Regions from separate parts of the Homo sapiens genome. Here region 2 is linked to region 1. Evidence: promoter capture Hi-C in human tissues and cell types (Jung and others, 2019). All regions are on one chromosome and are shown on one strand. The core of a region is centred on a gene start or on the middle of the fragment in contact, and the rest is flanking DNA. Distances in the headings are between cores, read along the strand shown. Region 1 holds the start of EMB (embigin). Region 2 has its middle 73 kb from the start of EMB.

Region 1 (3,207 bases), core at 454-2,953:
CAAAAGTGCTGGGATTACAGGCCTGGACAATTCTTTATAAGTGGTATTATGGAAAAGAGATGTGGCACAAGGAAATCTGCGAAGGAACCCACGATGTTCTGTCCAAGTTGTTAACAACTAGACGTTTTAAAAGGCATTTATAAAAATTAATAGTCTTACCTTTTGATTATCCTTCCTTCTCTATGGTGTGTTACAAAAATTCCACATCTTACAAGCCCATGAAAATAAATTCCCATGAGAGTTTGAAAACTTTTTGCAGAATAATGTCCCAATTTTAGTTACTGGTGGCCAATATTTACCAGCTTGAGAGGTGGTCTTTTATTACCCTTACTGGCTGGTAACATTTATGACACAGAAACTTGCAATAGGTTGGATGGAATCCTTTCAATATGAAAAGTAATTATAAACAGGTGAAGGTAGAATGGCAACTTTCGTGTTGGCTTTGTTAATGTTTTGCACGTAATCCCTCTGTCAAAGTGTCTTAAACAATAAAACAACAAGCAAAAATCTCACACATACACACACACACATGCACACACACATTTTGTTTTCAAAGACCACGGTGTAAAATGAAGATACACACACGTTATCCTGTAAGTTGTGGATCTTTGGTTGGCTAGTTGGTTATGATGTTTTTTCCCCTACTCAGCTCTAAAAAAACATCCTCGGCAAGGTGAGGTGGCTCACGCCTGTAATCCCAGCACTTTGGGAGGCCGAAGCGGGCGGATCACCTCAGGTTGGGAGTTCGAGACCAGACTGACCAATGTGGAGAAGCCCAGTCTCTACTAAAAATATAAAATTAGCCCGGCGTGGTGGCGCATGCCTGTAATCCCAGCTACTCTGGAGGCTGACAGAGGAGAATCGCTTGAACCCGGGAGGAGGAGGTTGCGGTGAGCCGAGATCACGCCATTGCACTCCAGCCTGGGCAACAAGAGTAAAACTCCGTCTCAAAAAAAAAAAAAAAAAAAAAAAAAAAATCCTCAAAGCCAACCCACCTGCCAAGAGGAGGGAAGGAGGTGATACTCGAGCCTTACTCTCGAATCAAGAAAAGGGAGTAGGCCTTGGGGAAATGTGGCTTTCAAAATTCATGCCATATTTGCCCAAGCCAAGTCGCTAGCTGGTCCCTGCAACCACCCACACACCCCACTGCCTTCTTCCTAGGAAAAACCAGACTCTGCCCTGTTACCTACGCGCCCGACTCGCGGGGCGCTGTTCGTTCAAGACTCGCCCCAAAGAGCGCAGGAACGCGAGCCGCAGCAGTTTCAGGGTTCAGCTTAGGTGACACAAACGTAGCTAATGGGAGGCCGCCGCCGACTCTCCCACCCGCCCTTACCAGCATCCCCGCGCCTCTCCCCGCCACCCTTGCCCGGCGCGCCGGCGATGCCCTCTGCCCGCGGGGACCCGAGCCTCGCGCGCCCTCCGCCCTCCCTACCCTGGACCCTGTACCCATCACACCTGGGGCACTGCCGTCCGCCGAGCTTGGGCGCGCGGCAGCGAGAAGGCACTGGAGGAGGAGCAGCCGGGGCGTACGCGCCCTGGCCTCCAGCAGGCCGGGGAGGGCGCGCATGGCGCCAGAGGGTCCGCCTGGGTCCTCGTGGAGACTGCTCCCTCAGCTCGCCGCCGCGGGTGTCCAGAGTCCCTGCGCACACTCGCAGGTGGCCCGGCGCTCGCAGCCAGTGCCGCGGGTAGGACGCTGAAGAAAAGGCGGAATGGGAGGGGCCCGGCCGCCTTGCCCCACTCCCCCGAGACGCTCTTACCGCGCCCGGCCCTCCATCAGTTATGCAGCCCTCAGCCGGCTGCTGGCGTTCCCGGATGTGCGGTGGCGGTGCTACTTCCCGGCTGCAGCCTCTCCGGCCTCCGCCCTCTCGGCTCTAGCAGGTCGGGAGAGAGCTTGGGCAGGTGATGTCTAGCCAATCTCGTGGGGAGAGGTCGAAACTCTGCCTACAGACTGGCCTTTGCACTTCACCTGAGGCAGGTTTCACTAATTTGCTTTGATGGGACAGATGAGAAACACTTTTCTCCTCCCGGACCCCGGACATCTTTGGGCTTTCTTACGAGGGAGGCTTATTTTTGCGCAGGTGTAAGGTTTTATCCAGCTGCCAGACAACTTGTGTTAATCTTTCTTTGCTTTGCCTACCAATCACACACATTCTCTCTTCTAGTCTCTGAAGGCTTAACTGATTTTCTCCGGATGAAGGTTTTAGAGTCCCAAGGCCCCATACCGTGTCTGATTTTACTTTATTTTTGTTTGTTAAGCCTAACAGCTTCTGAGGAGCCACCTAGAGCTCAAGAAGCAAAAGCTACTGAGAGTAGATACTATGTAAACTGCACAAGACATTGACCTTTGTTAAATCCGAACACTCTTTAAGATAATGCTCTTACCCACAAGGCTGTAGCTTGGAATATTCAGTGCTCTGAACCAAATTAAATAAATTAGTGCTTTATCCGGGAGGGGAGGAGAAATCTATATTGTAACATTGAAACACATTGATTTGATTTCTCTCCAGGATGTTATAACGCATTAAAAGATATTTTTAAAATTTTTCACGAGCTTTGTTTCCTCTCCCTTTATTTTTTTGAAGTTCAGCTTTCACATTCGTAAATTCAAAATATATCGGCGTTAAAAAAAAAAGGATTGGAAATAACATGAGACAAATTTTGAAAATTGAGCTATTTAACAAAACCTGTGTTTATTCCAGGCAGGAATGGTTAATTTGTAATTGGTACGTATTACTAAAACACGTCTGTTTCTGGTTTAGTATTATATGCACAAAACTTTGGAAACAGAATGTAGATTCTTCAAATTGGCAGTGAGATAATATGAATAATACAATTCATTCAACAATATTATCTACCAGGTGCCAATCTACCATTGTGTTCAAAAGAGGCTAGATAGGCACACATGCACAAATGCACGCATGCACACATGTACACACACACACACACAAATTAGACAACTGTTTATCTGTGAATGACAAATCTCAGAAAAGCCTCTTCTCAGAAAATTATGGTCAAAATTATTAAAATCTTCTGAATGAAACTTTAAAAGATGCCTTCAAGGACTAAATCTTATACACTGTTGACCCTCTGAGGGCATTGACTGGGCTTGCTAAACCCAAATTGCCTAATCAATGGCTGCTACATCACACCTCTTTCTTTCAACCCTGCATCTGGTCTCAGGACTAACTGCACACATTTCCCTATAAT
Region 2 (3,396 bases), core at 660-3,159, 72 kb before region 1:
AACCTAACACTGCAGTTTTCCAATGGTCTTAGCAAACAGCACACCAGGAGATTATATCCCGCGCCTGGCTCAGAGGGTCCTATGCCCACGGAGCCTTGCTCATTGCTAGCACAGCAGTCTGAGATCGAACTGCAAGGTGGCAGCGAGGCTGGGGGAGGGGCACCCACCATTGCCAAGGCTTGAGTAGGTAAACAAAGTGGCCAGGAAACTCAAACTTGATGAAGCCCACCGCAGCTCAAGGAGGCCTGCCTGCCTCTGTAGACTCAACTTCTAGGGGCAGGGCACAGCCAAACAAAAGGCAGCAGAATCCTCTGCAGACTTAAATGTCCCTGTCTGACAGCCTTGAAAAGAGTAGTGGCTCTCCCAGCATGCAGCTGGAGATCTGAGAAAGGACAGACTGCCTCCTCAAGTGGGTCCCTGACCCCCAAGTAGTCTAACTGGGAGGCACCCCCCAGTAGGGGCAGAATGACACCTCACACACCCGGGTACTCCTCTGAGACAAAACTTCCAGAGGAATGATCAGGCAGCAACATTTGCGGTTCACCAATATCTGCTGTTCTGCAGCCTCCGCTGCTGATACCCGGGCAAACAAGTCTGGAGTGGACCTCCAGCAAACTCCAGCAGACCTGCAGCTGAGGGTCCTGACTGTTAGAAGGAAAACTGACAAACAGAAAGGACATCCACACCAAAACCCCATCTGTACATCACCATCATCAAAGACCAAAGGTAGATAAAACCACAGATATGGGGAAAAAACAGAGCAGAAAAACTGGAAACTCTAAAAATCAGAGCACCTCTCCTCCTCCAAAGGAATGCAGCTCCTCACAAGCAATGGAACAAAGCTGGATGGAGAATGATTTTGACAAGTTGAGAGAAGAAGGCTTCAGATGATCAAACTACCCCAAGCTAAAGGAGGAAGTTCGAACCCATGCCAAAGAACTTAAAAAGCTTGAAAAAAAAGTAAACAAATGGCTAACTAGAATAACCAATGCAGAGAGGTCCTTAAAGGACTGATGGAGCTGAAAACCAAGGCACAAGAACTACGTGATGAATGCACAAGCCTCAGTAGCTGATTCGATCAAGTGGAAGAAAGGGTATCAATGATGGAAGATGAAATGAATGAAATGAAGTGAGAAGTTTAGAGAACAAAGAATAAAAAGAAATGAACAAAGCCTCCAAGAAATATAGGACTATGTGAAAAGACCGAATCTACATCTGATTGGTGTACCTGAGAGTGATGGGGTGAATGGAACCAAGTTGGGAAGCACTCTGCAGGGTATTATCCAGGAGACCTTCCCCAATCTAGCAAGGCAGGCCAACATTCAAATTCAGGAAATACAGAGAATGCCACAAAGATACTCCTCGAGGAGAGCAACTCCAAGACACATAATTGTCAGAGTCACCAAAGTTGAAATGAAGGAAAAAATGTTAAGGGCAGCCAGAGAGAAAGGTTGGGTTACCCACAAAGGGAAGCCCATCACACTAACAGCGGATCTCTCGGCAGAAACTAGGCAAGCCAGAAGAGAGTGGGGGCCAATATTCAACATTCTTAAAGAAAAGAATTTTCAACCCAGAATTTCATATCCAGCCAAACTAAGCTTCATAAGGGAAGGAGAAATAAAATACTTCACAGAAAAGCAAATGCTGAGAGATTTTGTCACCACCAGGCCTGCCCTAAAAGAGTTCCTGAAGGAAGTACTAAACATGGAAAGGAAAAACCGAAACCAGTCACTGCAAAAACATGTCAAATTGTAAAGACTTTTGAGGCTAGGAAGAAACTGCGTCAACTAATGAGCAAAATAACCAGCTAACATCATAATGACAGGATCAAATTCACACATAACAATATTAACCTTAAATGTAAGTGGGCTAAATGTTCCAATTAAAAGACACAGACTGGTAAATTGGATAAAGAGTCAAGACCCACCAGTGTGCTGTATTCAGGAAACCCATCTCACATGCAGAGACACACATAGTCTCAAAATAAAGGATTGGAGGAAGATCTACCAAGTATATGGAGAACAAAAAAAGGCAGGGGTTGCAATCCCAGTCTCTGATAAAACAGACTTTAAACCAACAAAGATCAAAAGAGATAAAGAAGGCCCTTACATCATGGTAAAGGGATCAATTCAACAAGAAGAGCTAACTATCCTAAATATATATGCACCCAATATAGGAACACCCAGATTCATAAAGCAAGTCCTTATGAGAGATGACAGCATGCTGGCAGTCCTCACAGCCCTCACTCACTCTTGGCACCTCCTCTGCCTGGGCTCCCACTTTGGCAGCACTTGAGGAGCCCTTCAGCCCACCGCTGCACTGTGGGAACCCCTTTCTGGGCTGGCCAAGGCCGGAGCCGGCTCCCTCAGCTGGCAGGGAGGTGTAGAGGGAGAGGCGCGAGTGGGAACTGGGGCTGCACATGGTGCTTGCAGGCCAGCTGGAGTTCTGGGTGGGTGTGGGCTTGGTGGGCCCTGCACTTGGAGCAGCCGGCCAGCCCTGCCAGCCCCAGGCATTGAGGGGCTTAGCACCCGGGCCAGCGGCTGTAGAGGGGGTACTGGGTCCCCCAGCAGTGCCAGCCCACTGGCACTGTGCTCAATTTCTCGCCAGGCCTTAGCTGCCTTCCCACGGGGCAGGGCTTGGGACCTGCAGCCCACCATGCCTGAGCCTCCCACCCCCTCTGTGGGCTTCTGTGTGGCCCGAGCCTCCCCAAAGAGCGCCAACCCTGCTTCATGGTGCCCAGTCCCATTGACCACCCAAGGGCTGAGGAGTGTGGGTGCATGGTGTGGGACTGGCCGGCAGCTCCACCTGCAGCCCCGGTGTGGGATCCACAGGGTGAAGCCAGCTGGGCTCCTGAGTCTGGTGGGGACATGGAGAAACTTTATGTCTAGCTAAGTGATTGTAAATACACCAATCAGCACCGTGTGTCTAGCTCAGGGTTTGTGAAGGCACCAATCGACACTCTGTATCTAGCTACTCTGGTTGGGCCTTGGAGAACATTTATGTCTAGCTAAGGGATTGTAAATACACCAATCGGCACTCTGTATCTAGCTCAAGGTTTGTAAACACACGAATCAGCACCCTGTATCTAGCTCAGGGTTTGTGAATGCACCAATCGACACTCTGTACCTAGCTAATCTGGTGGGGACATGGAGAACCTTTGTGTCTAGCTCAGGGATTGTAAATGCACCAATCAGCACCCTGTCAAAACAGACCACTCAGCTCTACCAATCAGCAGGATGTGGGTGGGGCCAGATAAGAGAATAAAATGTGGCTGCCTGAGCCAGCAGTGGCAACCCACTTGGGTCCCCTTCCACACTGTAGAAGCTTTGTTCTTTCGCTCTTTGCAATAAACCTTGCTACTGCTCACTCTTTGGGTCCACACTGCTTTTATGAGCT

The links. The method cuts DNA at HindIII sites, captures the fragments that hold promoters and counts their contacts. A contact is called where the count stands out against the background at its distance.
Region 2: a contact is called between a fragment that was not itself captured here and the fragment with the promoter of EMB in region 1, in 2 of the 25 tissues and cell types used here (H1 embryonic stem cells and mesendoderm cells).

Annotation. Positions count from the first base shown.
Region 1 is chr5:50,439,585-50,442,791 of GRCh38, forward strand. It overlaps EMB (embigin), which reads right to left and starts at 1,704. Exons shown (of 9, transcript NM_198449.3): 1 at 1,456-1,704. The coding sequence starts at 1,567. RefSeq lists silencers at 1,248-1,437, 1,518-1,647. The HindIII fragment of the contact is 6,914 bases long and covers 681-3,207 here.
Region 2 is chr5:50,367,051-50,370,446 of GRCh38, forward strand. No RefSeq gene overlaps it. Among named protein-coding and RNA genes, the nearest start is that of EMB, 73 kb to the right of the region's middle. The HindIII fragment of the contact is 4,770 bases long and covers 1-3,396 here.